2 separate regions of the Homo sapiens genome follow, and region 1 is linked to region 2. The links are contacts of gene promoters, found by promoter capture Hi-C in blood cells and fetal thymus (Javierre and others, 2016). All regions are on one chromosome and are shown on one strand. Each heading gives the region's core, a stretch centred on a gene start or on the middle of the fragment in contact. The rest is flanking DNA. Distances are from core to core; before and after follow the strand shown. Region 1 overlaps SRI (sorcin). Region 2 holds the start of DMTF1 (cyclin D binding myb like transcription factor 1).

Region 1 (4,592 bases), core at 1-2,500, 1.1 Mb before region 2:
GACTACAGCTGTTATCTTTCCTCTCCTACAAAGAATACTCCACACATAAAAACTTAGGTAAATGACATAGACGCACTTGGGTGAAATAAAACAACAAAAAAGGTAATCCAGTAATCCACGTCAGGATTCACCTTAGAAGTTTAGCACACGCCCTTCAAAACCTGTTGAATAATTTGATTGGCAAATACTATCTGTCACCAAGTCCCTTTTTGTCATCTATTTAAACCTTTGTTAACTCTCCTTAAAAATCTTGTACATTATAAGCTTAACTATATAAAAAGAAAATTGATAGAAAAAGACTAAGGGAATATATGGAAATATTAACAATGTTTATTTTGGATGAATGGAATTCTAGATGACTTTAATTTTCTTTATATCAGTATTTTTCAGATTTTCTATATGCTTTCCTTTTAAAATCAGATTTTAGTTTTTAAAATACTGATACATCCATTTTGATATACCATGTATTCACACTTTAAAAAATACACATAGCAGAGTATCGGAAAGTATGTACCAAAACATTGATCTGGCTACCACTGGGAGTCAGGATCATGAGTTCATCTTCTTCCTTCTTACTGCTTTTCCAAACATTCTCCAGTAAGCAGGTACTACATTTATAATGGAAGGAATTTTTTAAAAAATTTTAAGCTGTACACTTTCAAGTAAGATCTGAATTCTAATGCTGGCTTGTGCCTCTTACTATGTGGTTTGGTCATTATAGATAATGCCCAGTTTCAGTTTCCCCATCTTTGAAAAGGAGATAATATGTTATCTCTTGGGAGTAGTTCTGAATATGAAGTGTGTTGATACAAGAAGCACTGACAATGTTTCTGTTTCTTAAATTTAAAACTGGCCTGGTTTGCCTTTTTTATCAAGAGAGCTTAACAGATAAAAAATGAAATTAGTCTATTTTCTACTTGCCAGCAGAGTATCTGTCTTATTTTAGGATGCAGTGTGAAACTTACCATTCAACTGAACAACTAGTTGTCAACTAATGAAAATAAAACATTTTCTCTAAGCATCTTTAGCCTCATTTCACTATTAATTTTTTAAAATATTGTTAAAATATATATTATTCAAACCTAACATATAACTATGGCAAGTTAGTTAGCCCAGGTTACATATCAGAATGTGAAGCAGCCTGCTATATATTACACAGTGACTATAGATTGCATCATCTCCGTATATTGTCTGTGAGGCCATAAAGCTCTGCTTGAGTCTGGGCTATCTAGAAAAGGGCCAAAAAGGGGCTCAGAGGATTAGGAGGCAGGGAGCTCACCTTCAGTGTCCTAGCACCTGCTGTTTGGTTTCAACTCACCAGGGTCCTCTGAGGAAATCATAGTTTAAGGAAATGGTAATTTCCTGGTTGAGGATAAGCAGTAGAGAAGGCCCTTGCTGAAGGATATGGGCCATATTTGAACAAGTCCCAAGGTGTGCTGCATCAGTTGTGGTTCTGAATTGGCTTTGGGGTGAATACAAAAGCATCCCTCTGACATTATATTAGTTTGTTCGCACACTGCTAAAGACATTACCCAAGACTGGGTAATTTACGAAGGAAAGAGGTTTGACTCACAGTTCCACATGGCTGGGGAGGCCTCAGGAAACTTACTTATAATTATGGCGGGAGGGGAAGCAGGCACCTTCTTCACAAGGCAGCAGGAGATGGAAATGCAAGCAGGGAAGTGCCAGATGCTTATAAAGCCATCAGATCTCATGAGAACTCACTATCACAAGAACATCATGGGGGAAACCGCCCCCATGATCCAATCCCTTCCCTCCCTCGATGTAAGGCTTACAGGTCCCTCCCTGGACACATGGGGATTACAATTCGAGATGAGATTTGGGTGGGGACACAGAGCCAAACCATATTAGACATCATTCAGTTAATTCCGTTTTAATTATTGATACCTCAAAACGAATCTCTTAATCTCCTCCCCTTCTGCTTTCACCCATTCTTTCCAAAAGCATGGAGCATAGTTTTCAGTATGTCCCTGCAGTTAGAAAAAGTTTCCTTCCCGTTGACAAATTTGATGTATTCATCTCCTTTAATTACAGCCAGTCTTCATTACAAGTGAAATCTCCTGTTGCCTTATTTCTATTTTATGTTGGGTTGTGTTTAATTCATTGTATACTTCTAGTGTAGCCTCACCCACTACTTTAAAATTATTTCCTGGTCTGTTTACTTTTTCTTAAAGAATCTAGTTGGAGCATGGTAAAGCTGTGAGCTCAAGCTTGAATACTTCAACTATTTGGAGAATTAAGCTCCTCAAATCACCCTCATTAGGATTTAATTTTATTTTGGAGATGTGTGCTTTACTCATGTGTTTCAAGAGATCCATGATTTATGAAGTACTTTTAACACATTTCGTGCACTTACTTCCATAGGAATGTGGCTGCTAGAGACCTGGTGCTTCCTGGGGATAGTTGGCGTAGATTTGCACCACAGCAGTCATATTAAATTAAAGCTCTTGCTTCTACTGAGCCAAACTGGAGTTTAGACTGTCCTTCAGCATGATGTTCCAGGTGGTACCATCAAGTCCACGAGCTGGCTGCCATCTGTGAACTAGACTTTGCTTTGGCTCAGCCGAGTTACTGTTTCAGTGTTCATCTAAATGACTTATTATATGACTAAAATATTATAAATGCAAGAAATGGAGCTATGTGTAATCACCATAAACTTTTAAAATCTCATACTAAATGTACAAACCCTTCATCAGTGACTTCCTTCTCTTTTTCTCACATTAAAACAATACCTTGACTACTTATAACTTATTAACTATGCAGCCTATGAACAGATGGCAAGGACCCCGCAAATGCCAGAATAATGACGGGTAGGTAAAATGCCTGCCTGGAAGATGAAAAAGCCAGGGTGGAACAGTTTTTAGGCAATGAACTCATGAGCCCATCCTAGGCTCAGTGCTTTAGAATGCAGCACAGGTGACCTTATTAACTAAGCACCACTGCCTGGTCTACAGGACAGGATATAGGAAATTGATCCTCATTAGGGTGAGAGAGGAAGTGCTTACAAGGAGAGGCAAATAGATAAATAAGTAAACTACCTCTGCCATCCAGATGAGGAAACTGCAACAAATCGAGCACTCAGGCTTTGCTAAAGGGTTGTATTTCTCATCATGTTAGTGACCCCTTCTGGGACACCAGTGAACAGGAAAGAAACAATCCCTTGACTGTACCCCTAACAAAGCTTCTGAAAGAGAAACTAGCTGGGAGAAAAAGAAGAGTCGTGCATCAAAATAACATAAATCTTTTATTGAAAGTCACTTTACTAATGTTACAATGGGAGTAACATAGAAAACCATGGTATCTTATTAGCTTCCGAAGTGAATACTAATAAAACTGTGCCAGAAATTTGAACCTTAAGTTACAGTGACCTTTAAAAACATCAAGATTTTGTTTACCTACAATGTAAGAACAATTTTATAACTTGAACAGCCATAAAACAAATCACACTTGCTCAGGAAAGCAGTTGCCATATACATTTCCATTGGTGTTTGCCATAACCCCAGTAATTATTAAAATAGCTTAACGAACCTGAAGTGCAGAGTAGCAGAGAAATGTTAAAATAATGCGAATCTAAGTATATACACATGATTACCTGATTACCAAAAGTGAAACCATGCTGCTATTAACACCTCCTCATGGGGTGGCTTCCACTATCTATAGATGCACATCACCTGTCAAAGGTGATAACCGTGGAAAACACTAGTGCCGACCTACTGCTGGCTAACATGTAAGCTACTATGTTTAGGTAAAACACCCCGTTTCTGAAAGAAGTTGTCTTTTGGGGGTGCTAGTTTGGAGGGGCAAGTCTTCCAGCAAGTTAAAAAAGGAGTACATGCTTATCTATCCTGAATAAGCCTTTTTTTAAAGCAGTTTTGCAGTTAGTGTAAAAAAAAAAGTTTTCCATACAAAACAAAGGTGTTGAGTCATTTTTGCCCTTTAAAAAGACTGGTTGTAGAATCAGAGTTTGATTTTGTGCTGGATTAGAAAAGAAAAGTGGGGTTTCTAGTCAGGCAGTGATACACATATATAATTTAGCAGGAACTTTTGTATTATTACTAAGTATTCATATCAGCATTTTCTGTATTGTGTTACTTGTTCAACTTAGCACCGCTATATTTAAAGATTGGGGCTATTTGCATTATTTTAGAGCTTAGCCATCCAACACAAATCACAGCCTGAAAATTCATAAAATAAGAGGCTAAGCCCTAAGGTGAATGCAGATCAGAATATTATATATATATAACATTTTTTACAAGAAAGGAAAATACCTTTTCTTCATAAACTCTTTGAAACTTTATTGATGATTCTGTATGTGCATTATCTTAAGAATTCGTCTCATTGTATGCCTTTTTGTAAAACAAAACCAAAAACACACATATTGCCTGGTTTTGATTTCAAGGATACGTAGGAACATGGAATGATGATTACTTGATGAAAAGCCTGCCAGCCTTGAAGCTTCCCCATATGATACAGGTTTTATGAACAGTGCAACAGGGATGCATCAGGCAGGAGTGACTGGCCTATTATGGACTGGACCACAAAGTATTCAGAGTCAACACTCAGTCAATCTG
Region 2 (4,809 bases), core at 118-2,617:
AAATGGTTTTCTCCCACGAATTAAAAATACAGGTATAATTTAAAATTTTCCAAATGGCGTCACTTTAAGCTTAAGACATGTCATATTAAAAAATAATTCCACAGAATATGCATTTTGTAGGACGTCCCAACATGCAGCCTCGACTGTCAGAAAGGAGGCACACATAATCAAATCCATGTACATTAAAAAGAGGTACACAAAGATGAATGAGTTGCGAAAAAAGCAACTACACAAATTCAATGAGAGAAAGGGAGGAGTCCTGACTCATACTGTATACTATTATCCTTTTCCTTATCTACACCGAGTATTTTATATAAAGACATATGCTCTATCATTCAATTGCACAAAAGGGCACTTGGCCACTTCTACTCTCAAATCTGCTCTGGAGATTGTGGTAAAACATTCTACATACCTCCCTGAAGAAATTCTCAAAGCGAAGTACATTTTAGAGAACAAAGTGGACTTAACAATTTTAAGAACTTTCTCGGAACTCGGCACAATAGGGTAATTACAACTTTACAGCCGCATTTTCCGTGCTCCACCAGGACTGTCCCCGCGCCCCAGCCCACATCCCTTCTTTAAAGAGAGTCAGACTGAGAGAGACGGTTCGGCCAGCTATCCCGATTCTCTATGTCTGGGCCGTGAATCGCCGAGCAAGGCTGAACCCCCGCAAAATTACAGAAGAATCTAAAGCGCAAACGAGGGAAAAGAACAAAAAAGCAAAGGGGGGGAAGTTGGGTCGAGACCCACCCCCACTCTCTCGACCCCACCCAAGCCTACCTCTCCTACGCTGGACCATAAAACAAAACCGAAAACGTAACAAAAATAAAAACTAAAAATAGAACACCACGAGAAAACAAGTAGGGCTTCCTTACTGTCTCCACTCCTTCTGGCCCAGTTCTCTACTCAACCTCCCGGCCCACCCCACCCCCCAGGGGTCCCGGCGCCATTTAGCTCCTCCGAAGCCGCCGCCATTTTCCGCCCCCGCCGGATCGCCGCTGTGCCTCGGCAGCCGCTCGCTTCCCTACTCTGCAGCCTGAGCCACGGGCACCGCCCGGCCCTAAGAGGGAGGCCCTGGCCGGAACGTGCGGGGACGGCAGCTGCAACGTCAGGAAGGCCAGGCTCCGACCCCGCCCGCAGTGCCCCGGCGCCGACAGCTTGCGCCAGCCGGCGGGAGCTAGCGGGCAGCAAGGGGGCCGGACAGGCTCCACTGGGCGGAGCGGCCCTGGCGGCGGTTGGAACCTGAAGGTTCCATCGCACTTACTTCCTGTTTTGGGTCCGGGCACTTTGGAAGAACCAGGATGGAAGCTCCAAAAAATACCAGGATGGAGGAAGCAGCCACGGGCGAGAGTGGCTGCAGCTGGAGTGAGCGAGCGCGACGAGCCACCGGAAACGGAGCTGCGGCCGCGCCCCGCCCCCAGCTCCCCGCACGCTGCCCCTCCCGCTCGTCTGTCCCGCTGGCGGCCCAGCGTGCTGGCTGTACGCGTCACTTCCGGCTGTGTCGGCGCGCGAAAAAAGGTCCTGGGTTGGAATGTTTGTACTGGTCTGTGGCGGTGGTTGTCGGCTGTCCTGCCAGGAAAACTCGGCACTGACTATCCCACTGCTGATGCTGTAAAAGAGGTCCTTCTGCTATGACGCAACTGTGGTTCCTCTGGTTCTGGGGACACTTAGGCCTCGCGTGCCGATTTTCATAGTTCCCTGTGGCTCCGAGCCGAGGGAGCCGCGGTGTGGAACGGAGGGAACCAGTGATCTCAGTGCTGAAGAAAACAGGGAGTGTGTGTCTTCATACTTGATTTGCCTTACCGCAGGGGCATAATATGAGATATCTGGGCGTGTTAAGTCGTTCTTGATGAAATGTGTCCTCTGTGAATGTAGTCTCACTGTTAGACTAGGAAGATGCTGTTTTGCTGTGCCCAGTTCCTCTTAAAAGTACAGATGCTCCTTGGGTTGCAGCCGTATAAACCCATCCTAAATAGAAAACGCGTTTTAATACCCTTATAAACGAAAAGGATAAATAAGCCTTTGGGTTCTGTAATGTGAGCCAGCATTCTTTGAGTGCGTATGTGACAGGTAAATGTTTTACGTATATTAAACTCATTTAATGTTCATAAGTTCTAAGTGCATCGCTACAATTATTACAAATGAATCCCATTTTACACAGGAACCAAAGAGAAGTGAAGGAATGTGTCCAAGGGCTCCCAAGTTGGCGGTGGAATTAGAATTGAAGCCTCAGCTCCAAAGCCTGTGTTCTGAACTACCCGGTTGCAGTTCACAAAATACACTTTGGCAGTACTTTCATAACGAAAACAAATGATTACAACCAGTTTACAAATGCTTTGCTTTACTGGAGGATCGACATGTTTGACTAATTTTCAAAAATAAATCTCAGAAGCAGCATTTTCTTGTGTTGATAACTTTATTACTAATTTGTGGCACTCTGCATTCTGTTGGAGTTAAGCCGTGTATCATTCCATTTTTTAATAAGTACATAATAATGTTTATGTAAGCAAAACTATGAGGCAGAATAGTATCGTGGTATGGACTCAGGCAGTCAGACCTGAGTGTGAATCTTGGCTCCATTTCTTAGTAGTGGATATGGCACTTCACCTCTTTTAGCTTTGTTTACTTTAGGAGTAATAAGATGTACCTTCCAGAATATTGTAGACAGCGTAGTTTGCATGGAATCTGACGTGTATTAAGCATTAAAAATGGTAACTAATAAACCTTAAAGCCAGGAAAGCAATACAACTACTCAAAGAGCAGTTCTAATAAAATAATAATTACATATGCAAAATTGTTGACATTAACATTGATAAGGTGGTTCCTAATGAGCCATATTTTTCATAAGACATAACCATATAGGATTATTTTTGCTAAGGCACAAAATAGTGATATATAAATTATAGTCGGGCTATCCATTCTCCTCTGCTAAATTTTAGGTCAGCCTGCACGCTGCTAACTCCCCGCAAAAAGTCAAGTGCATCCTCATAACTAAATTCTCCCTTTCTGGTTGAGTTTCTTTTATAACTACCTTTTCCCAAGTCAATTGGTATTTATTTGGGGATGACAAATGTATTTTAATATTAGCTTAATGCATAATTTAAAAAAATATAATAACGTCTCTATCCCTTTAGCTTGAATAATCAATGTAAAGACTATCCATAACACAACTTGATTCCTAGAGCAATTTTCTGCAGTTATACTTCTATGTTATCCGTACCTCATTATTTAGTCAATGTGTACCTAGGGAATGGATGAGGTTTTAAATATTATCCAAGGATTTACCTATTTAGGAATTAAATGTTTTGTAGAAAAATCATTAGAAGTATTTCTATCCTAAACAATAATTATTAAAGTATTTATAGCTTAGCTATGGTATTTACTGCATTTGCTAGTTAAAATTGACTTTGTTGGACTCCAGGTGTCTATAACACTTTTGTGAACCTCATCAGTGATTGATGATGAAATTGCCTTTTATGACAGGTTGATATATTAATATAAAGTATTTCAAATACTGAGAAGCAGGTTCTGTTGTTTCATGATCATCTTTTGCTAATTCAGAAAAAAAAAAGATGTTTATAAGCTTTTGTTCAAAGTAAAAGAAAATTACAATTACTGAGTAATTTTCTTTCTACACAGGCTCTGAGTCCTGTTAATATAGCTGATGGGTATACACTGTAGGGCCTTCCAGCTGATGGAGATTGCTGTGCTAATGGAGGAATGAATAAACTGTCCCAGTTATGCCCACACACCAGGCTTTACCAGGTGGTCTCCTGTCTCAGATTCTTCCTGTAGGCTTCCCTCTGGGCCTTATGACACTCCATCTTACAATCCTTTTCCCGCCTTGCATTTTGCCTATGTGTCTCATCTCTGCAATCCTTTTAATACCTCAGCCTGGTGACAACCTCTCTATATCCACTTCACTTTTTTCTTCTTTTGTGGTAAATCTTTGTTGAGACCTATTGATAGAATATTAGCCAGAAAAGTGTTTCCTTATCAAGGGAATGGAGAGCTAAGGCGTCCAATACTCCTAGCCAATAAGGATAAAAATTTTTGTTCTGTCTTTGTAATTTTGGTGTGCAAAACAAAACAGTTCAGATACTTCACTAAAACAGGATAATATCCAGACCCAGACTCAAAGACCTGTTCCTTTATAATCTAGCATGGAAGAGAGAGGGACAATGTATTAGTTAACTAAGCAATAATTGCCATGTTTTGTAAGTTCTGAGAAAGATACAACTTGGGTGCTCTGAAAGTGAACTTTTACATAGAGAGTTCAGAGTAGGCCTTTCTGAGAAGATACTTAAGCAGAAAGGTAAGAATAAAGAAGCATAGTAGGGGGTGCAAGGTGGGAAAGCATTTGTCAAGCTAGTGCATGAAAGCATATTTGCAGAAAGCAACTGGCTTGTAAAATGTTTATAAAATGGTGAAAGCAGAGCACTGCCAGGTGATAGGCTGTCCCTTGCAAATGTTAGCTGAATTTCTCAAAAAACTTTATTGTGGTAAGAACACAACATGACATCTGCCCTCAATAAAATTTTAAGTATATAAAACATTATCATTGACTATGGGTACAATGTTGTACAGCAGATCTCTAGAGCTTATTCATCTTACTTGAAACTTTATGCCCGCTGATTACTAACTCCCCATCCCCTCTCCCCAGCCCCTGGTAAACCACCATTCCACTCTGATTCTAAAAATTCGTCTATTTTAGATACTTAACATAAGTGAAATCATGTAGTATTTGTATTTCTGTGACTGGTTTATTTCACTTAGTATAATGTCCTCAAGGTTCATCCATGTTGTTGC

Evidence for each region. The method cuts DNA at HindIII sites, captures the fragments that hold promoters and counts their contacts. A CHiCAGO score of 5 or more calls a contact.
Region 1: a fragment that was not itself captured here is called in contact with the fragment with the promoter of DMTF1 in region 2 in 1 of 17 cell types (erythroblasts); the score reaches 6.6 in erythroblasts.

Annotation. Positions count from the first base shown.
Region 1 is chr7:88,201,544-88,206,135 of GRCh38, reverse strand. SRI (sorcin) reads left to right here. Exons shown (of 8, transcript NM_003130.4): 8 at 1-1,021. It overlaps ADAM22 (ADAM metallopeptidase domain 22), which reads right to left. Exons shown (of 32, transcript NM_001324418.2): 32 at 3,247-4,592. Among named protein-coding and RNA genes, the nearest start is that of SRI-AS1, 13 kb to the left of the region's middle. The HindIII fragment of the contact is 1,967 bases long and covers 267-2,233 here.
Region 2 is chr7:87,149,011-87,153,819 of GRCh38, reverse strand. DMTF1 (cyclin D binding myb like transcription factor 1) reads right to left here and starts at 1,367. Exons shown (of 18, transcript NM_001142327.2): 1 at 1,265-1,367. It overlaps DMTF1-AS1 (DMTF1 antisense RNA 1), which reads left to right and starts at 1,327. Exons shown (of 2, transcript NR_136253.1): 1 at 1,327-1,518; 2 at 2,162-2,397. RefSeq lists enhancers at 1,172-1,733, 1,579-1,818, 1,734-2,297. The HindIII fragment of the contact is 3,514 bases long and covers 72-3,585 here.